Linked DNA regions of Homo sapiens: regions 1, 3, 4 and 5 are each linked to region 2. Evidence: promoter capture Hi-C in 16 types of primary human blood cells and fetal thymus (Javierre and others, 2016). All regions are on one chromosome and are shown on one strand. The core of a region is centred on a gene start or on the middle of the fragment in contact, and the rest is flanking DNA. Distances in the headings are between cores, read along the strand shown.

The links. The method cuts DNA at HindIII sites, captures the fragments that hold promoters and counts their contacts. A CHiCAGO score of 5 or more calls a contact.
Region 1: a contact is called between a fragment that was not itself captured here and the fragment with the promoter of EPHA6 in region 2, in 7 of 17 cell types (M2 macrophages, M1 macrophages, endothelial precursors and 4 more). The highest score is 24.9, in M2 macrophages.
Region 3: a contact is called between a fragment that was not itself captured here and the fragment with the promoter of EPHA6 in region 2, in 1 of 17 cell types (erythroblasts). The highest score is 7.7, in erythroblasts.
Region 4: a contact is called between a fragment that was not itself captured here and the fragment with the promoter of EPHA6 in region 2, in 2 of 17 cell types (megakaryocytes and erythroblasts). The highest score is 15.5, in megakaryocytes.
Region 5: a contact is called between a fragment that was not itself captured here and the fragment with the promoter of EPHA6 in region 2, in 1 of 17 cell types (M2 macrophages). The highest score is 5.7, in M2 macrophages.

What each region holds. Positions count from the first base shown.
Region 1 is chr3:94,247,274-94,251,962 of GRCh38, forward strand. No RefSeq gene overlaps it. Among named protein-coding and RNA genes, the nearest start is that of NSUN3, 190 kb to the left of the region's middle. The HindIII fragment of the contact is 225 bases long and covers 1,423-1,647 here.
Region 2 is chr3:96,812,532-96,817,128 of GRCh38, forward strand. EPHA6 (EPH receptor A6) reads left to right here and starts at 2,063. Exons shown (of 18, transcript NM_001080448.3): 1 at 2,063-2,477. The coding sequence starts at 2,093. It overlaps LOC124909397 (a long non-coding RNA gene), which reads right to left and starts at 1,876. Exons shown (of 2, transcript XR_007095974.1): 1 at 1,504-1,876; 2 at 1-579. RefSeq lists silencers at 899-968, 1,029-1,148. The HindIII fragment of the contact is 10,030 bases long and covers 1-4,597 here.
Region 3 is chr3:94,231,299-94,235,543 of GRCh38, forward strand. No RefSeq gene overlaps it. Among named protein-coding and RNA genes, the nearest start is that of NSUN3, 170 kb to the left of the region's middle. The HindIII fragment of the contact is 3,549 bases long and covers 1-3,281 here.
Region 4 is chr3:94,332,502-94,336,583 of GRCh38, forward strand. No RefSeq gene overlaps it. Among named protein-coding and RNA genes, the nearest start is that of NSUN3, 270 kb to the left of the region's middle. RefSeq lists an enhancer at 1-2,484. The HindIII fragment of the contact is 529 bases long and covers 2,131-2,659 here.
Region 5 is chr3:94,263,270-94,267,924 of GRCh38, forward strand. No RefSeq gene overlaps it. Among named protein-coding and RNA genes, the nearest start is that of NSUN3, 200 kb to the left of the region's middle. The HindIII fragment of the contact is 1,756 bases long and covers 751-2,506 here.

The DNA of each region.
Region 1 (4,689 bases), core at 285-2,784, 2.6 Mb before region 2:
GAAGGCAGAAATTTGCTTCACATAGAAGATATGAGATTTGGAAAGTGAAAGAAACGCGGAAATCCATTATTGCTCCTCTTGGCAGTAGTGATCAGAAATGTGGGCTTCAAGTGATGTCGGATTTTGCAGGGGCTTCCAGATATGGCCCTGGGAATGATCCACCTCAGTGCTAGAGGCAGCTCTGATTGTTGTCAGTGTCTTCCTGTGGTTACTGCAAATTTCTGAATGTTTGAGAGGTAATGGCCATCACTGATAGCAAGAGTCTGTATTTCCGGACCTCTATTCCTCCAGCATGTCTGATAGTTTGATAAGCAAGAATTAATACTGTTTGTATTAATTCTCCTTCCGCTTGAAATACTAGAGTGATCAAATACTAATTGCTAATGCACTTATCTTCTACTAATAAATAAGCTCATCTGCTAGAAGGGTATTTGAGGGACATCTTTACCAAGTCATAAAAATATATTGTTATACATTCCTCTCAAAGCTTTGAGTGCCTGTTTGCTTACACTGAGATCATGGTAACTTTCAAATGGAAGCTCCTTTTCGGGGTATGGTTGTGGGCTGGAAGTTGAGCTCCACTGAATCAAGCGTCCTCCTCCACAAAGAAGTGTGGGGGAAATCCAAAAGTCAAATGTAAATTATTTGAGGACAATTTTTCTTCTCCAAAAGGACCATGAAATATGGTTTAAAAAATCAAATTCTGTAAATAAATGAAAAAAGAAAACATTTGATATTTTATCTGGAAATCAGAGTTGTAGTGGTAGGCACTATTTAAATAGTATAGCAACCAGAACTGAGGTTCAGTGTATCCCAGTCTATCTAATTTTAAATTATTATTGTCCACACTTTCATCCTATGAAAACACTAGAAAACAGTTTTTGGCCTCCTTCCCTCCAAGGAAGCTTGGTGATTAAATTTCTCTACCCGTTATGAAAAACAACTCTCTTTAACATTAAGTATGCTAACAAATTTCTTAGTGACTCAGCCATTATTTTCAATTCTGCTTATTTCCATCTCACTGGAAGTTTAGACTAAAAGTCTATGAAAGAAGAAAATGCATAATTCTAAGAACATAACTTTGTCACATCAAGTCTCTTTGACATATGCATAAATTTGTAAATTACTATATATTGAAAGATATCCATCAAGGTCAGATAATTTAACCTTTCAGAATATTCTTTTCAAAGCTGTTTAAAGTATGATTTATTTCTTATTATTTTAATGGAGCCTGTTGGTAGATTGTGAAACAATCCTCTGATTGGCCCACATAGATTCTGACCTCAAATCATTAAAAGGTTATTTTATAAAGGCTCATGCAAAGGCCAGTTGTTTGGAACTTGTACAATATTTTTCCATAGAAGTATAATTTATTTTATGTAGTATTTATCTTCCACCTACTCTAGAAAAAAGATTAGAAGAAGCTTATGTAATTAAGTGTAAAGTGAAATAATAAAACTTTAAAATTGGAAGGAGCAGAGGCATAGATGTCTCTGAAGACCCAAGCGTTTTTTTGTGTGTTTGTTTTTTGTTTGTTTGTTTATAAAAGGGAGCTAGGTCAGTATAAGTAAAAGAGAAATCAGTATCACATAGATCTATGTTCTAATCTTTCTGCTAGAAAAAAAGCTACTTGTGTGAACTTGACCAAGCTTCTGAATCTCAGTTTTCACATCTATTAAATGGTTATAAACTGTAAATAGTTTGGCCAGTGAATATGTTCCCTGACAAGTCCTTAACAGAAGATTTCTCCCTGAGACCTCCTTCGCTATTCCCTCTGGGATCTGTGGCTGGATAGAAACGAGGGTGATTCTGAAAAGTTCTGCCTGCAGAGCAGCAATCTCTCTACTCCTATTTTTGTTGGACTAGCAGGACCAGTTGCCCAGCCTCTGCCTGTGCTGGTGCTGAGCTCTTCTGTTGTGCTGACCTCCAGGCCACCCGTAGACCTCTGCCATGCTGCTGTCAACCTCCCATACCCCATTGACTCTTACTAATCTCTTCAACTAGCCACTGGCCAGGAAATCTTCAGCTGACATTTTAATTGTAAAGCTGTTACATCGCTAGTGATACTGACTACCTCTTAATATTGCACCTTCTCTTTTCCAGAGGACAGAACTTTTAGAAGGTTAAAGTTAAGGGATGATCAACCCTAGCAGGATCTTCACCTGGAACTGCTAGTTCCTCTGCAATTCCCCACTCTGCTGCTCCATCTGTACCACTCTTCACTTACAGTAGGTTTTTCTCTGGATTCCAGGCGTTCTCTCTATTCTAATACAACTTTGGGGAAGTTTCAGGCCTCAGACAAGATAGTACTTCAATTGCAACACAAGTTCAAATTCACTCCCATCAATCCCTGGATCCCAACCAAGAGCAGGAATGGAGCTGAGTAACTATTTCAAATTCCGCCAATAAGACTTTACACAGAGCAGACCACCAGGGGGCAGTGTTGCCTTACCTCGCATTCCAGCCTAACATGGGGAATGGAGCCCCAAACCTTTCGTTGCATTCAAGTTTAGATAAGCTGTGAAGCCTAAATGAGATAATATAATAGCTGCAACTGTTGTTTCTTAGATGCTTTCTAGGGGACAAGTATTTTGTCTATAATTTCATTTAATTTTAATGTGTCTCAGATAACGTTTGTGGGTTTTTCTACACATTGAGATTTAGATGACATTGCTTCCATGACTCTTCCCTGCAAGTGCTGTTCATTTCTCTGAGTTTAATGTTCATGGTTTCTTCTGCCCATGGCTCCTGAAATTGTACATCATGCCTCTGTTTGCACAAATCAATTAGTTTTTAAAATAAGTTTCCATGGGAAATCCATTCCATTCATACTAAGTCCTTCAGGAAATTCACAAGAAGGGATCAAGTTATCTTTTTATGTCCCTCTGAGCTCTTTATTCTGCTTTTAACCTCTTCCGCAGAACCAAATTCCTCCCCTTCTAACTCATAACAAGCCAATGAATCTCTTAGTTGTTTTAGCTTCTTCCTCACCCGAGTTACTTATTCTCAAACAATGGGGAAGAGAGAAATTTGAAAGTGCAGTCTTGGTGAGCTCTTTGTCAATGAAATGTTTATAATTTAGGAAATTTGAGCATATGCAAAAAGGCTCTTATACTAATCAGAATTTCATAGGGTTGTTCTCCAGCAGTTACATGTGGAGTGGGTTAATTATGAACTAGTGCCTAAAAAAGTTTAGCACACCAAGAAGATATCAGAAATATCTCAAATGAATATTAATGTTTGAAAATGTCTATGTAATTGAAATCAATTTAAATGTAGAAATAATTTGAAGAATGCTAATGCAATGGCAGAGTCCCACAGATAAATATGTCAAAACACATTAGGATTTCTCTGAGGCTATGGCAGAAACCTGCATTGCGATCAGACTGTGGGATACACAGATTTGATTCTGTTTTTTTCTGATTTAAGTCTACTTTTTTGGGTTTTCTTATTTGCATCATTAGTCACAAGATTTTCGTATAGGGGCAAAGAAATTTTACTTCTCCCCTCTGAAGGTTTGAGTCTGTTGAAAAGAACTGACAATAGACAAATTAATAGGAGAAAAGGCATCCACATGTATTAACACTCATAAACATGAGAGTCATACAAAATATGAGACACAAAGAAGGGCCAGATGGTTGAGGCTTAGATACCCCTCTTCATAGGGGAGAGGGAAATGGGGGATGCAGGGAATTGTGAGGAATAGTAAACGATTTTCAGGGGAAATGAATAGGCTCAAAGAGCAGACAGTCGTTTGTAAATGATTCTTTTAGGAAACTGAATGGGACTAGCCAGTTACAGGAAGGTGAGAGGCTGAACTGTGTCATCAACAAAGGTTATCTTATACAAATAAAGTCTTTTAGGTTATATCTCAGGGCTGCCCTCAGAAGAAGAGATAAAATGTCTACCTGGGTGTGGTAGAGATTTTTAATCTCTTCTTTTCTGATTAATTCTTCCTGTTTATTTAGCGACAGTTCTATGCAGGGGATTAAGATAATTGCATTTCTTTTGAAAAGAAGTTTCCTTATTCAGATAAATAAATTCCAGAGAATACCCCTTCCTGCGCTTGAAGGGGAGAAAGAAGAGAAGGTTAACAAGTCCTTGGTTCTGAGGCAGCTTCTGAGGTCTTCCCATTTCTTTTAATTCAAAGTGCTCAACATAGCACAGCAGGATACTTTGGGGTATTGTTTTCTGAGATCCAACATTTGGCTTTGTTGATTTTTCTGGGATGCGATACTTTTATTTTTATTTTAGCTTTGTTTAAGTTGAGTGGCGTACCTCAACTTTGGTTTTGGTATGGGAGTTTTTGTTTGGTTTTGGTTTGGGAGTCATAGATAAACTTCAATTTTAAAGAGATTAATAATTAAAAAATAAGTTGGCCTAAAAAATACTTCATGATTTCAGTTATATGAGGTCTCTAAACTAATCAAGTTCATAGAAGCAGAGAGCAGAAAGGGTGGTTGAAAGGGGCTGGGGAGAAGAGAAAAGGGAAGCTGTGGTTGAATGAGTGTAAGTCTCATTTATGCAAGATGAATAAGTTCTACAGATAAATGAACTGTATTGTGCACTTAAAAAACTTGTTAAGAGGGTAGATATCACGTTAAATGTTCTTGCCATGAGATAAAAACAAAAGCAAAGAAGCATGAGGAAACTTTTGGAGGTGATACATATGCTTATTACCTTCATTGT
Region 2 (4,597 bases), core at 813-3,312:
ATATAAACTCCACACATGGTATCTTTTTAGAAATGATTTGCATACATTTAAGTTGGTGTGGACACACCTTCAAAGAGAGGCAGAGGTGTATGAATTCCTAATGAGAATGAGAGTATAGTCACCAATCAGAACCCTTCCTCACATTCTCCAAATCGCTTGTATTTCACCATTTCTCTCCACGCAGCAGAATTTTTGACATGGGACATTTCTTGCTCTCATTCTTTCTTTCCTTCCAATTTACTGTAAGGCATTAAGTGAAACTTCTTCAGCTATGGTGTGTGGCACAAAAACATCGCAGCGCAGGAATGCATGGAATAGAAGGGTCCTTTCCCTTCCAGAACTCTGTAAGCGTCAAACGCCGACCCTTGGCTCCATCTCCCGCTCCCCTGACCTCTTGTCACTGTGCCATTTCCCTCCTGTGCTTTCTGCCCACTTGGAAAATATCGTATATCCTTTACAAGACCGCTACTTTCTCTCCTCTGTTCACATTTCTCCATTACCATCCACATTTTCTCAAAACATTCCGACGGGTTTTGAAGTGGGGTTTTCAACCTCCCTCGACTGTGATAGCCGAAGTCCCTTCAAGAAAGAAAAATGATGTTGGAAATACTAGTAACAAATAAAGTATCACGGAAATCCCCACCCAAGCGATACGGTTTCCTTGACGCGCCCTTAACCAAGGCGTTAAGTTTAGCCTGACAGCATCCCTCCCTCCTTTCGGTTCCTGGCCTGATGAGCCGCCTCCACCTGCGAGCGGTGCAGGCATTTTTGTTGTCGACTAACCCCCTCTAGCGCCGAACTGGCGGCATCCGAGCCGCGGCTGCCAGGCCGGGAGAAGGCTGGGCTTGGCCGGGCTCTGCAGCGCTCCGGGCTCCGTCCCTGCCCTGGGCGCCCGCCTCCGCCGCGGGGCGAGGTGGTGGAGACCGCGGACGCCGAGGGTCCTCCCAGTCAGCACGCCGCGTTGCCCCGGCCCTGGGGCGGGGGCCGCGGAGTCCCACCAAGTGGCCCGCGCCTCGGCTTCCGGGAGACCCGAGCGCGGGGAGGGAGTGGGTGCCGCGAGGGGGCGGCTCGCGCGGGGAGAGCCGTCAGCCCACGGCGCCCCTGCGCTGCTGTGGATGTGGCCACGCGCCACTCGGCCCTTGGACTGCTAGGAGAGCGCGGCCCGACGCCACCACGCCGTGGACGCTCGGGGACCCCTGAATCCCAGCGTCAAGGCTGCGACGATGCTCGTGACCTCCACCGCGAAGTCACCTCCGCAAGGCGACGCAAGGACCTCGGCGATCCCGGGCGCCGTACACCCGCCACTTTCCAGCCTCATGTAACCCCCCCTCTGCTGCTTCCTCCCGGCGCTTTGCTTTTCTACAACTGGAAGCCGCGAAGGCGGCTACTGCGCTGAGCCGCTCGCTCTGCTGGTCAAGTTTGGGCGACCCGCGCGGAGGAGGGTCGGGCTGACTGCCGCCGCTGAGCTGTCCCCGGACGGGAGCGCCTGTCCACGGCACTCACCCCCTCCAGCGGTGGAAATGTGGAGAAGTAAGTGGGAGGCGGTGTCGGGAACTGACTCCTCTTAAAACGGTCGGCGCCGCTGCTCTGAAATGGGCGGCTAAGTGCTTGTGGGACTAAGGGCGGCCTCAGAGATGCCCGGAAAATCGCTGCCACGGCCAGAGTGCGGCGCAGACGCGGCAGAGTTGGAGGTGTCCGCGGTGCAGGCTGCTGCCCACGCCGCTCAGGCCAGGTGCTGAGGGCTCAGCCCGCGCCTCGGCCGAACCACTCTCAGCCCCGTTGAGCCACCTCGTCCGCCCGGCTTTCATCGCACCGGCCAGAGGAAAGTTCCCGCGGCCCCCACGCCTCTTCACAGCTGCAGCGCCTCCCCTGCTTTTGGCTCCGCAAGTGCCCACTTGAGTCGGGAGAGGTCCTCGGGCCGCCCCAACTGCCCGCCCCACCTGGCAGTCCGTCCCCGCCCCCGTCCTCGCGGTGAGGCGCTCCCCGCCCCCTCGCTCCCCTCCCCCAAACCACAGCCCGAGCTCGCTCTTGCGCGCGCGCGCTCTCTCCGGCCCAAGTGAATAGTCCTCGCGCAAGCGGGACACTGTGGTGGATGCAATTCCCCTCGCCTCCAGCCGCGAGGAGCTCCCCGGCGCCGCAGGCAGCGTCCTCCTCCGAAGCAGCTGCACCTGCAACTGGGCAGCCTGGACCCTCGTGCCCTGTTCCCGGGACCTCGCGCAGGGGGCGCCCCGGGACACCCCCTGCGGGCCGGGTGGAGGAGGAAGAGGAGGAGGAGGAAGAAGACGTGGACAAGGACCCCCATCCTACCCAGAACACCTGCCTGCGCTGCCGCCACTTCTCTTTAAGGGAGAGGAAAAGAGAGCCTAGGAGAACCATGGGGGGCTGCGAAGTCCGGGAATTTCTTTTGCAATTTGGTTTCTTCTTGCCTCTGCTGACAGCGTGGCCAGGCGACTGCAGTCACGTCTCCAACAACCAAGGTAAGGGACGGGGCGGAGGAGCGGGAGTGGGTGGGAGGAGGAGGGTGCTTGGAGAACCAGGGTACTGGTTGCCTCCTGCAGGTAACTTTGTACAGGGGTCAGAGTCTCCTGGCTCGCCACACGAGGGGATCGAGGATGTCCCCTTACCCTAGCGCCCTGTTTACACCGCCCGGGACGGTGACTCCACAGGCTAGGATCCGTTGTGTTTCTAAATGTCTTTAAACGGTAGCGTGAGCATCAGCTGCAGTTGGGTCCCACCGCTAGCGGCCGTGGGACCGCTCCCCGCTGCGCTGTCTCCACTGGAAGTCAGGCTCCGTGGCACAGACTTAATGGAGACTTCTGGCTCTTTGGTGGTCGCTCTTCTCAGGGGAACGTGTGGTTCTCCCACATGCCTTCTTGAAAGGCAGGGTGCTCCCGCTGTACCCCGTGACCAGTTATCAGTCTTTCCCCACCCCTCCGGTGACTGCCGCCCTCGCCCAGCCTCAGTCCCCATGCTTCATCTACCATCCAGGCCACCGAAGTAGACTTACTCGAAATTCTTCCTAGACCAGATGCTCCAGATCTGTGTAGGGGTTTCATATTCTTGCGGGCAGGGAGTAGAAAAGGGTTTAGGGTGAATTTCCAAGTTGTGAATACCCTATTCATGAAGTCAAGTCACTGACAGATTGCTTGGAGGACTTTGTTTCGGTGGGTAAAGTGGTAAAGTGAAGGTAAATAGTGGTTAAAAAGTGATGGAAAGCCCTTGGAATATTTGAGCATTTTCCCTTTTTCTATTCATACAATCTTCATGAAATATATCTCCTTGTATTTCTGCTGTGCATAAAGATCTATAAAAAGTACCACCTGCATATTCTAAGTCCTTTCAGACTAAGCATGAAACAACCATAAAAGTTTCCCAGCATGTATCTGGCTAGATATTCTCTCACTCGTGCTGTAATGACCAACCGATATGTCCCTTCAAATATTATGTGTGGTAGTCAGTTATAGTTATCATTTAACACATAAGGCATATGTTTCAGAGTCTCGAAGTAATTTGCAGGTATAAAAATGGAGGTCAGATGGCTTGAAAGTGTTCACTTTTTGTGTGAGGAGAAGGTTAAGGGAGAAGATAAACAACACAGCATTCTTCTTTGTCATCAACATATATGGCCATTTTACTTAGAAATGTTCAGAATCAGAATAAAATATAATTATTAAATTGTTCTCATTTATACAGTGGTACTTTGGCATATTTTCCTAATTATTACAGTTATTTTAAACTGACAGAATGCAATCACAAATGTGTAGGTGAATTTGGAAACCATACATAACCTTCATGGCTTTGAAGATAGATCACATAATAGATATCAGTTACAGTGTCCTGTTTTGCTGTGGTGGTATATACCATCACACTACATCCCTCATTTATTTTCAAAGACTGTGGGTATAAAATATTGAATAGGTAGTTAACTTCATTTCTGTGAAGGTAGAAGATTGTTAAAAAACGTGTAACGATTACCCTTTTTTATTATGACAAAACAATTTTTAATAATTGGAAAGTCAGACATTGATACTGTACTTTATAATAGTAAGTAAGGATACTAGAGATGAATACTTTGAGAGTCAAGTGTACTAGAAGTTTGTAACAGTTGTTCCCATGCAATAATTTCCCCAAACAATGTTTATTTATTTAAATACCTATGATGCATCAGTAACTACCCTAGGCCCAGGGGATACTAACATAAATAAAACAGATATCTGAATCTACAAATGACCCTAAAGTGCCATTCTGCCAAAATATGTCCTGTTAAAGCATGACCTTTCAGACATTCATAGTAAATTTAAAAGCATCGAGATGTTATTTATTAACCTCTTCCAGTAATTTTTATTTGCTTATCTATTTTAATGACTTTCTCATAGTATTTACAGATGTTTGACCTAGAATATATGCCAAACATATGTAATTTATTTATTTTTATTAATTAGCTAAACTTAGTGAATGAGTATTATCCAATTTTCCCATCAGTTAAATAGAAGCATTAAAGATTGTCTACTTAAACTCTTAATTTGAATTTGTATTGATATACCGATAACACAGGCTGTGCATAAGAGTACAGTGGGCAAAATAGTACCTGAAGGTT
Region 3 (4,245 bases), core at 257-2,756, 2.6 Mb before region 2:
ATGCTTAATGTTTAATTTCAATTGAACCAAACATCAAATTTTCACAATGGGTCTTGTCAAAGGGGAATACCCTTTCCCTATTCATCTGACTTCTATGAAAAAGGATTTCATTTAAAGAAGCCCTATTCTACTCCACGAAACTCTTAGTGGCAAATTTTGGTATATGTAGTCTACCTTCTACTCACATGTCTTTTAGGATGATGACATACCTGCCAAGAGCACCTCCTCACAGTTACTCTAGGCCATGGAGATAGTCATTACTTTTGCTCTCCAACATCCCATTCTCTGGGCACATGAAAGGTTTAATTTACTGGTGGGACAATTTTATTAGTTCTGGCCACTGGATTGAGATTGAAAGTGATGTGATTCACTTCTGGAGCAGAGCACGTGATTGCCAAAAAGAGAGACTTTCCAAAACCCCGTTTATCTTTCTGTAATAGCACCGAGCCAGGTTTGAGATGGTTGTTGCTCCTTCAGACTGGTTCCTAGAGAGAAGGGGATGTGGAGCAGAATCCCAGTTGACTCGTGACGGACACATTATACGAGTAAAGAGTAAACCTTTGTGTGTCAAGGCACTGAAATGTTGAGATCCTGTGGTACTGCAGCTGACTGCTGACAGAATGCAATGAGTTAAACTTAGCAGCTGAGGCTATGTCCACGGTCAGGAGGAGAGTTGTTCAGTGCTGCCTGAACCTAGGTGGATAAATCTAATTCTGGAGTTCAAAAACTCCCTTTATTTAAAAGCTATATTCTGTAGTATAATCTTTAGATGTGATAGAGTTTTTTTTTTTTTTTTGTCTCATTTACCTTGCTCTTTTGCCTAAACAGGCAGAACGTGTAGGGAAGAGAAATATTATTTTCTGGACCTGCTCCCTTATAACTCCATCAGGTTACTGAAGGAGGTCAAATGGCCTTGGAAGGAACTGGAGAGGCAGATGGGGATGAGATCATGCATAACCCTATGGACAATGTTAAGGATTTCAACTTTAATATAAATCCATTAGGAAGTCATGGAAGGCTTTCAGGGAGATGTGTGATAAGATGTACATTTTTCAAGAAGCAGACTGATTAGTGTGTGGAGAATGCATTAGAGGGGTATGAAAATGTATATGGGAGACCATTTAGGAGGACATGGCAGAAAGTCCTGACAGGAAGATAGCTGAATAAACAAAAAGAAATTTTGGGCTGAGTGTGGTGGCTCATGCCTGTAATCACACTTTGGGAGGCTGAGGTGGGAGGATAAAGCCCAGGAGTTTGAGACCAGCCTGGGCAACATGGTGAAACCTCATCTCTACAAAAAACAAAAGAAAAAAATAGCCAGGCACGGTGGCGTGCACCTGTAGTCCCAGCTACATGGGAGGCTGAGGCTGGAGGATTGCTTTAGCCTAGGAAGTCAAGGCTGCAGTGCGTCATGATTGTGCCACTGCATTCATGGGCGACAGAGTAAGACTCTCAAAACAAACAAACAAAAAAAACAGAAAGAAAGAAATTCTGGGATGGTTAAAATGATGAAATATATGTGTCCTTCCCTCATGATCTACCTTGATCTGGGGATACATTTTAGAATATTTAGTGGAACTGATGCATGGCATAACCTTTAGGCAATACTTCAGAAGCATTAGTCCATCTGTCTCTCATATATGCTTTTGATAAGGATTATACAGAAGAGATTTTGGTTTACCCTTTTTGGTAACAGCTTTAAGTGCACAAATTCTGTATGTGCTTCAACAATTGATTGATATCTCTTCTGACATTTAACATTAATGAAGACCACATCACCACGGCCCATTCTACATCACCTGTTCAGAGCACTGCTGTGTTACGAAGTACCCTAACCACAGCCTTTCCTGTTTTAGGAGGAACTCCTGCCACACAGATTCTTCTGTCACAAGAAGCCTATGACCATGGAAAAAGAAAAAATACCCCAAACTGTTCTTAGAAGAGGAGATCCCTAATCACAGATAAAGTCAGTTTTCCTAAAGGGGTTCCTGACTGCTTGCTCAGGCCGGGAACAGGTGTATAAAATGGCAATTAAAAGGTACCAAATGGCTTGTGGAGGTGATGTTGCATGGGCCTCTGATCTCTATTTGCAACATACAAGTTAGCAAGAAAAGGAGAATCTTCTTTTCCACACAGCACACACATCTGACGCGAAGGTCATGTGATCTCTCACGGATGTGTGCCTGATGAGATTCTGTGCACAAGGCCAAGGTTTTCCTAGGAAGACAATTTGGTCATATTCCAACACTCACACGGGCAATTGATGCACAAAAGTTATACATCACAGAACACAGGTGTGATTTCAGCCTGGAAAGATTTCAAAGGATAGTTAATAGATCTTCCGTTGGGGCAATTAAAATAATTCTCAATAAGGTATTTCTTAAACATCTACTTTTGAGCTGTATAAATGCCTGGAGACTTCTGATATTAACTAGATACAGAATGTGTACCAGAGGACTAAATTTTATTTTTTAAATATGAAGGCTTAGAAATAATCCCATTAGATATTGGAGAGTCTGTATCCACAAAAAGTGAATTGTGTTTTGGGGTAGCTATTTAAAAAGCTAATGACGTTCAGGTGTGGTTGCTCATGCCTGTAATCCCAGCACTTTGGGAGACCAAGGCGGGTGGATCATGAGGTCAGGAGTTCAAGACCAGCCTGGCCAAGATGGTGAAACCCCGTCTCTACTAAAAATACAAAAATTAGCCAGGCATGGTGGCGGGTGCCTGTAATCCCCGCTACTTGGGAGGCTGAGGCAGAGAATTGCTTGAACCCGGGAGGAGGAGGTTGCAGTGAGCCAAGACGGTGCCACTGCACCCCAGCCTGGGCGACTGAGCGAGATTCCATCTCTAAAAACAAAACAAAACAAAGCTAATAACAGAGTGGAAACCATTGTGTGTTGAAGCTGCTCTATTATAAAAAATAGAGAAGAGAAAAAAATAGGGTTATCTATATAATGAGTTTCTTCTTTAAGGCAAGCATATGGCTCATTCAGAACTGTTACTGAGTTAAGTTTCACATTAAAGAAGGGATCTTGAAGTCATCTCTACTTTGCCTCTGCAAATTATCTGAGTGTCCAATAGATGGCGCCCTGATCTTGATGCTGATGGAGGTTTAATGCCGCAGAGTGTAAACCATAGATCTTTATTGAGTTAAAGGAAATTCACTCAGGACTCGTTCATTTAATTATTTCACAAGGTCATTATTGAGTGCCCGCTATGTGATAGGACTGTATTGTGTTTCTTTTCACAGGGTCAGAGATTACTGTAAGGCAAATAAAAGCTTCAATGTACTTCTTCACAAAACAATACTATATCAGTTTATATTGCTATACAACAAATCTCTTCAAAGCTCAATGGCTTACAATAACAATGAGTTATTATTTCTTACCATTTGGTAGGTTGTCTAGGTGGCTTCTCTTCTGATTTCATCTGGATTCATTCACTCATGTAGCAACATTCAGCTGGAGGGTCTCCTGGGCTAGAAGGTCTGAGATGGCCTAACTTACACATCTGGCGGTTGGTGCTAGCTGTTCTCTGGAGCGCCTACGCTTGCCTCCAGAACTTGGCTGTCTCCAAGCAGTGCTCCAAGTAGAGGAAGTCAGAGTTGTATGTAAGGCCTATTGCGACCTTCTTAGTTTTGTAAGTTACATTATGTCACTTCTGTCACCTTCTATCGGTCAAAACAAGTCCAAGCCTGGCCCAGATTCAACAGATAGGGAAACAGACTTCAACTTTGGATGGGAAAAGTGATCCATCACATTGCAAAAGGGCACACACACTATGATGGGAGGACCATGTGGTCATATATTTCAACTGATAAAAAACAAGTAGAGAAGTGAACAATAGTGGAATAGCCCTGCCTAGATTCTTTTTTTTTTTTTATTTTGAGTTCTAGGGTACATGTGCACAACGTGCAGGTTTGTTACATAGGTATACAGGTGCCATGCTGATTTGCTGCACCCATCAACTCAACATTTACATTAGGTATTTCTCCTAATGCTATCCAGCCCCCAGCCCCCCGCCCCCACCTCGAGAGGCCCTGGGTTGTGATGTTCCCTGCCCTGTGTCCAAGTGTTCTCATTGTTCAATTCCTACCTATGAGTGAGAACATACGGTGTTTGGTTTTCTGTCCTTGTGATAGTTTGGTGAGAATGATTGTTTCCAGCTTCATCCATGTCCCTACAAAGGACATGAACTCCTCCTTTTTTATGGCTGCATAGTATTCCATGGTGTATATGTGCC
Region 4 (4,082 bases), core at 1,145-3,644, 2.5 Mb before region 2:
GAAAATGTTCCACAATTTGGAACACATCAGGTTAAATATTTTGTTCAGGAACATGACAGCAAGGTGATATTGTGGCTTCCCATTGTATCATATCAGGAGGTACATAATGGTAATTTGTCCCATTATTGGTGATGCTTACTTTGATCCCTGGGCTAAGATGTTCTCACTATTGCAAAATTTCCCTTTTTTTCCTTCATAATTCATAATAATCTGTTGGGTGAAATGCTGACAATGTGGAGGTCATTTTACTCTATGTTTTTAAGTAATATTTGATGATTGTTGCCTAAATCAATTCTGAGATTGTTTGCAAAATAGTTATTTTCTAATTGTATCATTTCTTCCACTTATAGTAGCTGGCATACTTTTTTTGAGGTTTTTTTTTTTTTTTTTCCTGCTACCCCCTCTATATTTAGTTGACTTAAAATGCAATATGTTATGATTTTTTTTCTTTAATGCTCAAATAGTCTCAAATTTGGTCAGCTGGATCTTTCAAACTTGTCCTTATGCCTTTTTGTTATGTCCCCATTAATCATTGAGGACCTTCTTGTTTTCTGACATTATAAGAACATTTAAAATCATCAGCGATTTTTCTTGCCCTCAGCCATTTTTCCAAGGAACTGAAGTTCCTTTATGGGGAGAATGGTATTTAGAAACTAAGATGTTGGCACCAGATGAGCACATCAATGTTAGGTTGGGCATGACCAATTTCCACTTCTACTGTATCTGGTCCATTTCCATTCCTCTTTCTCTTGTTCCCACTTATCTAATTTTGGATTTTATGCAATTAAAGCATTTACTTCCTTTGCATTTTCTGTGGTTAAGCAGTTAATTTCATGTGTTTCTACCTAAAATTCTATGTGATTCCTAAAGATTGGCAAGTGGTGAGAATCCCTCTGTCTTCATCTGACAATGAGAAAGCTCTAAAATTCCACACGTTATTCAAGTATTTTGCAGTCACCTCTGTTTGTCTTTCATCTGATTTTTACAGATGTTCTAAAGTTCCCAAAATAAATAGAGGTAATCAGTGAATCACAATATCTGGAAGATAAAGCAAATGCTTACCTGTTTGCTTTGCCATCTGCTCCATTTTAGATTGGATCAGTACATATTCAGTCTCCCCAAACAGTATGCACTTCTCAAATACCCATGGTGACTGGCTCCAATTCCATCTGGTTGTTTCTGATTATTTCATTACAGCTGTTCAGATTTATAAACCCAGCAATTAAAAGAACTTAGACATGTTAATACTTATGTAGCCCTTAACCACCATGCCTCAAAAGAAAAATTGGGAAAGGTTTTACAACACATTGTTTCATTGAAGGGACTGTTATTAGTTTAATGAAACATGCTACACATGCACATTATTTTTAAAGATTTCTTTCTTTCTTTTTAGAGTTGTCAAGCCTTCATTTACAAATAGAAGATTAGCTATAGTTTATTTTAATTGTTCCAAATTTTACAATGGTGAAAAGCAACAATACAAATCCCAGATTTTTTTTCCCCTAGCAATGTTTCTATGGGAAGATTAAGAGTGTCTGCAACTTGTTCTAGAGTAATAATTTCAATTGGCTCAAGTCCATTAACTGCAGGGAAAAACACCTGGCAAGGCGGTTGGTAGCAGCCCATTCTTGTTAACCTTTCAGCCTTCACAATAACTATCAGCAGGCACTGAATCAGGGCCTCTAATAAACTGGCATTAAAGCTGCTGACAGCTAATAACTTTTTATGGGTTTCCAGAACTAAATAAAAGAAAATTCTGATTAATTAGAATCAAACAATTTTCAAATTCCATAACCCCAGAATTAAAAAAAATTTAGACGTATAAAATAAAGTAAATATTAATACGGCCTTTCAGAAGACATTTTCAGCATAAACAAAATAGATTTTAAAGTACATTATTTTAGCTATTTTACTCCAGTTTAACTTTCTGCTACCATGCTCTTTTTTTTTAGTAAAAGAGAAAATAGCTAAGAAATTGAAAACTTAGCATACCAACTATAGAAATAAAGTTTTAACTGAATTATTTCAACATGTCAAATAATTTTGCAAGTGAATTATAGAAACTCTTTAATCTTCAATAATTGTGGAAGAGTAGAACTCAGGAGAGACATTTTAAGGAGAGTATTTAAAAGCTTCACACACATCGATTTTCTTCTTTTTGCCTTCCTATAAGAAAACCAATCTGCAGGTGGACTGTATCTGTAACCTGTTCACCACTGGTTAGGTGGAAACTAAGGTGGTCTTGAGGAGTTGCAGGAGGAAACCAGAGTCGAAAAGTTACGGAAACACTATGGTTCTTTAAGGAAATAGACATAATTTATTTTCTTTCTTGAGCCAGATAGCTGATGTTCAGTTGCTAGATGCAACTCTGGTAGAAAGAAGGCATGGGTAGAGATTGAGTAGGGAGTCAGTTTATATCACTGACGACTTTAGACAAAAACAATTGAGAACCATCATTGTACCAGAATGGAATGTGCGAGGTTTCTTAGGGGCTAGATTCAGGTAACTATGGTGATAGGAGGATAGAGAAGCTCTACCTATACCCATGGCTCAGCTCCTGTAGATGGAAGGAAATAAAGTTGTTTCTGAGAATGGAGAGACACCTGAGACAGTGAGTGAAGACGCAATACAGTGAGGTGAAAACTTCTCCTAACTTCTAAGCTTATAACACAACCTTGTAGGGTGTGGCGAAAACCATAGATGCTATGGTTTGAATGTTTGTCTCCTTCCAAACTCATGTTGAAATTTAATTGCCATTGTAACAGTATTAAATGATGGGACTCTTAAAAGGTGATTAGGCTATGAAGGCTCTACCGTAAAGAATGGATTCATGCTGTTATGGAAGTGGGCTCATTATTATGCAAGTAGATTCTTTATAAAACTATAATTTTGTCCCCCTTTTCTATCTCTCACCCTCCTTTTGTCCTTCTCTTATGTTATGACACAGCAAGAAGTCCCTCACCAGATGCTGGTACTTTGATCTTAGACTTCTCAGGCTCCAGAACTATGAGAAATAAATTTCTGTTTATTGTAAATTAACCAGTCTGTGATATTTTGTTATAACAGCACATGACCGACTAAGACAGTACCCATGGCTGTTTGCATGAAGGAGTTAAGATTCTGTAGAAACAAATTCAAGTAAATCTTCACCTTTTTAGCATGGAGGGAGCTTTGGAATAAGGGTTTTTGTTAAAGAATGCAAGTATTTGCCAGTGGGAGAAATGTAGTAGGATAATACTTTGAGATATGGACTGTAGTTCTTTATAATCTTTCTTCTAGAGAAGGTAGCTAAAATATTCCACATTTATGTTTCATGGAATAAATATGACCAGAATCAGAAACAGAGAGAGAGAGAAAAAAAAAAACCCAACTTTTGAAAGGCCATTTGAAAAGACTTTTAAAACTCCTAGTTGGGTGAAAGACTTTGGAATTTCTAAAGCTTAAAGTTAAAATAAACAATCAAGTTGGAAAAACTCATGATCAGAGAGAATTAGTATTTCCCAACCCTAGTGACTCAATAAAATTTGCTTGGACTGAGAAGAAAGAAGTAATCAGAAGATAAGTAAGAGCGTTTATGTATGGTAGAGCTGCTATGCTCTGCCCCTCCATACTTGCTTGAAAACTGGAAAGGCACAGACAAATCCCAGATTTGAAAGCAAGATCCATTCTCTTCTTCCCAGTGAATAACCAAGAAAATCCCAAGACCAGACCTCCCCCTGGTGCCCAGTATCATGTGAGAGCAAAAGGAAGGCTTCAGTGTCATGTCTGAAATGAGAGAGCGTAGAGCAGCCTCACAGAATTTCTCACAACTTACAGCAGCAATGGAAAGCAGCTGGTTGTTTTCTCTCCTTCTGAGATGTTGAAAACATCAGAGACAGAGAGAGAGAGAGAGAGAGAGAGAGAAACCGAGACAGAGAGTGCACCACACCTGGAGAGTTCCTACAGGAACTCTTGGGAAAACTTGAAGCCAACTTACATAGGTCAGTAACTGTTAGGTCCTAACATGTTTATCTCAGAGGATGCAGCAGGAGGAGCTCTTGAATAAGGAAAAATACCATCTCCTCATTCCCTTATATTGAGGC
Region 5 (4,655 bases), core at 379-2,878, 2.5 Mb before region 2:
AAGAATCAAATAAACACCAATATTTGGAGTTCTGATAGAGAGAAGAACTTCACATTTGGCTTGCATTTGGCACTTAATTTGGAGGTTGTATTCAAGTTAACAACAACAACAGCAAAAATACAATGATTCTTCTATATTGTCAATAATTACTGCTCGCAGCTTGATTATTTTGCAATTATCAAGATATCGGATGCCACACATATGTGTCAAAGCCTTTCAAAGGACATCTAATGAGAACCATAGATGAAGATGGTATTGATGTCTGACTGGGGAGAGAGCTGTTCATGTACTTAGCCTTTGAACTACAACTCACCATCTAATTTTCTCAATCAAGGTCTGAGACTTGAAAGAATCTATGGAAGAATCTAGATCATCTACTGAAGTACTTATGACTTCAGAATTTAGAGTCAGAAAACATATCCTGAGCATGTTCCCTCTCCTGCTTCTCAGAAGCCCTGAACCATTAGACTGCATGAGTCTGCCCACTTTCTCCTGTGATGATTCAACTGGGTTCCTCTTCCCTCAAAGATCCCTGCATTCTAAAACAATTTTTCTGCCTTCCTAACACTCTGCTAAAAAAACCGATTCTTTTAGCACAGCTGACCACAGCAAGAAGAAAGCAAGCAGATGGAGTTAATTCATACTAAGATGAAAAAGTCTGCTAGCCTCCACAGGGTATTTGCCTCATAAAAAAGATTGCTTGAGAAGTTAAGTTTATCTCTAACTTGCAGAACCTAAGAAATGAAGTAAAGCTTCTCAACTGTGGGGAAGAAATGTGATCTCCTGTATTTTTTGGTCAGTATTTGGGTTATAAGACATGAGAAAAGAGATACACAAAGTCATCTCATGCTGACCAAAACAAAAACAAAACAAAACAAAAAACAATGTAGATTGAACTATGATTGAATGATTAATGCATCAAAGGAAAAAAGTATCAATCAGACATTGGTCATTCACTCTTGGCCATATTGAAAAGGGTATAGAGGCACACTTTGGAAAAGTCTATCTTAACATAGTTCAGAGAAGAGAGTCTTAGATTACAGTAAACTGGCAAGAAGATGCTATATGAAGACATCTATTTTACATTACATGTTTCATTCACTTAATTAATGTTCGGTTCTGTTTCTAAGTTTTTTAAGCAAACTTCTGGTTATTATTTCATTCTCAGTTAGTTCTGTCTACAGAGAAGTATGCTTGTCACATGGGCTTGAAGAATTTGAGACCCATACTAGCTATCTTTTAACTAGCTTTTTTTTTTTTTTCTTTTAACAGTCAGGGTAGGATCAGAGAAGCAGAACCACTAAGATTTTTTTATACAGATTGTACCTTATGCAATCATGGGAGATGGTTAATCAGCCTCTGCAAGGCTGTTGCCTTTGCATCTTTTCTGGAGCTTAAAGTCTGCAGGACTTTCAAGAAAAGAAGACAGATTTGGAGTGGGGAGAGAAAGGAAAACTGTAACCCATTGGCTCAAGCTGCAGTCCAAGAGGATGGATTGAAACCCTGGTCTCACTCTGCCTCCAACTTCAATGGTGCTGGTGGCCTGCAGGAGAAATTGATGCCCTTTGTCATAGAGCTTAACACACACATGGGCCAAGAAGACAGAGAACCTGAAGGACAACTGAGGGTAGGTTGGAGCAGCTGCAGGGCTAGGTGTTGCCCCATGTTAATCCAGTGTCAGCTGAGGTGTCAATGAGCATGGGTTGGTAGAGTGCCTGGTGCCCCTGTACCAGCCTGAGGATGAAAACAATATGGCCACTGCTTCAGTCTAACTTGCAAAACTTATGCAAAAGGGCTCTCCTGGACCACTGGGAAGTTAATTATGGGAAATGTAGTTCTAAGTTAGCTAAATTGCTATGGTTCAAATCCTTTGCATAAAAAACACATTGCTATCCAACGTGTTATCCAATTCTGGATTTACAAATTCCTTTTATAAACTTGCTAATAAGAATTTAGCCCTGAAAGATGGATTTACTCTTGATGTCCTGACAAAATAAGGGACGTGGCTGAGGGCCAGAGCCTGGAGAGAAGTTTATCCTACAAAGCTAATGAGTGACACCCTGTCTGTGTGCTCTCTTATCCCACAGCCTACTTCATCCCCTTGGCATTGCCCAAGCAATCTCTCATCATTCTTCTAGCATTGGCCTGGTAATACTCTCTTTCTTTTAGAATTTCAATACTTGGAATGTCTCAAATTGCCATCTCAGAGGTTACCATGGGCAGTGATTTTTCTTTTTCTTTCTGGTGTCCAGAAGCAGAAAGTGAAAATAACAGTTTTTCTGTCTCTACCTTTCCATTCTGCTCTGCTAATTATCAAAACAGTTCTTCCATCATTTACCCTTATACTTCTTTTTCTATCAAACTTCTATAGTAAGCCAAATATCCAAAAATTGTGTACAGATATAGCTGTAGAAACACTTTGCTAGATATATTGACATAGATGATCTTACTAGTGTCACGCAGCACTCTCTCAATCTCATATGAGGACATTGGTTTCATCTTCTAAAGCTTCTAGACTTGGTACTCTTGTAAGAAAATTCAGGTTTAACCTAAATGTAATAGGTTGAACTTGATTGTATTGACAGGTTGATATTATACCCCATTCAGTGATTTCAAGCAGAGCATGGGATCGGGTGGAAGAGGGAAAAGAGTGTTGAACCAATACTAATCCCTCATTACCTTTTACAAATCCTCTTTTCCAGAACTAGATTATTTAGAAAAAATGTGAATAACAATGTATTAGGCTAGAAATTCTTCCACATTCTCCAGCTTTCTTCCTCTTGTGGTCTTCAGTAAGCTATTAAACTTAACAAAATGCTAGAAGGAAAATACTAGTAAAACAGCTTACTTTTAAAAGGATGAATTGCATTGATGTAGGAGTTATTTTTCCCTTGTACGCAATGATTTTGGCCCATAATTGCCCAAAATTTCTGAAGCTACGTTATCTTGTCAAATGTAGTCTACTTCAGCATTACCTGACACCTCAAGTGTTCTAACACCAGACTGTCAATGACGTCGGGTGAAGGACCATTGCCAGGGAAGATAACTTGAAGTATTGGTGAGAAGCGGGTGTCAGGAAGAGGAATGAGCAGTCCATAAGCTAGACACAGCTGCTGGAGAAAGAACTCCACCTCTTGCAAGTGTGTAAGAGATGTGCAAAGAGAGAAGGCAGGGCAAGGCAATTAGGTGGAAGCCCCAATGCAAAGGGCCAAAGATGACTTTTATTCTGAGCTGCCCCTTTGCTTTAGCCAGGAAAAGCTAAAGCTTACTGATTAACTCAGAAACTTCTCCAGGGTGGCTAGACTGGAGCATGTGGGTGGAATTAAATAGAGGATTTCTGGGCAAAATGAAAGTGGGGAGGAAAAATGAAAGGACAGCTGTTGATAGGAAACTATAATACTAACATAGACTCAGACTTCTGGAAAGAGGAGTTAGAAGAATGCAGTGTGAATCAATCAGTGACAACTACCAAATCAGGTAAAGGTGCTTCCATTTTTTCCAAATTTTTATGTAGCATTGACGGTCTCTTTAAGGACCCCCCTCCCCTTCCCACCTAGCCTCAGGTTTCTGGGAGTTGGCATCAGGACAGCCAAATCATAAAGAATGGGATTTGGGGGAGAGCAAATCATTGAAAAGCTTGCTTGCTTATTAGGCAATAAATTATGTCCTGGGATTGATGCCAGGGTGGTTTTGGAAGGGCCAATACATATTGACCTCTGAAAAAATGGATTTGTTATTGAACATCTTTGTATGAAATCTTAACCAATGATGGGCATGTCACAGCACCATGGTTAGGCAGCTCCTGTGCACAGTTGCAACAAGGTTGGGAGGTTGGATTCTGCTGACATCTGTCTGGCAGAGACACCGCTGTTTGGAACCTCCTGCTAATCAGAAGCTTGTCCAGACCATTTCTTGCTATAGTAGATCATCCTCTACTGAATTGTAATGCAGATTGGGGGGGAAAGCTGCTGAAATGTAAAAGGCACTGTCAAATGTAGTGGCAGTTGTCTACCCTGTGAGTGTTTCTAAAACTGAATATGAATTTTTGAATCAAATATTGTGTTGCAATCAGAGAGATAACTGTTGAGTTGAATGGGAAATGTGCCTCTGTTCCTGGTAAATAGGCACAGACCAAGAATATTTACCTTACTTTGTTGAAAAAAAAAAAAGATTAAATGGTAACTATCTGTATTTGATAAAATGCTTAATTAGTGCCTATGATTAGGTGAGTTAGAAAAACCCCAAGCAAGTGGTTACATAAAGGCAAAACCCATTAGTTAAAAATGAATTGGTCAATATTAATAAATATCTGTAGAAGATATTTATTAACAATAAATATCTCATTTAATTAACAACATTTTGACAGAGATATGATCTCTTCATTTTACAAAAGAGGAAAAGCAGAACCATCTCATGAACACAGTGACTGTCTCGCGAACACAGTGGTTCTCAACCGTAGGTGATTTTGTCCTCCAGGAGACATTTGCAGTGTTTGGACACATGTCTGGTTGTCATAGCTGGAGAAGGGGGTGCTACTTGCATTTGGTGGGTAGAGGTCAGGGATGCTGCTAAACACACACGGCCCCCACAACAATAAATTACCCAGACCAAAATGTCAACATTGCCAAAGGTGAAAACCCTTACAGTAGGGTAGC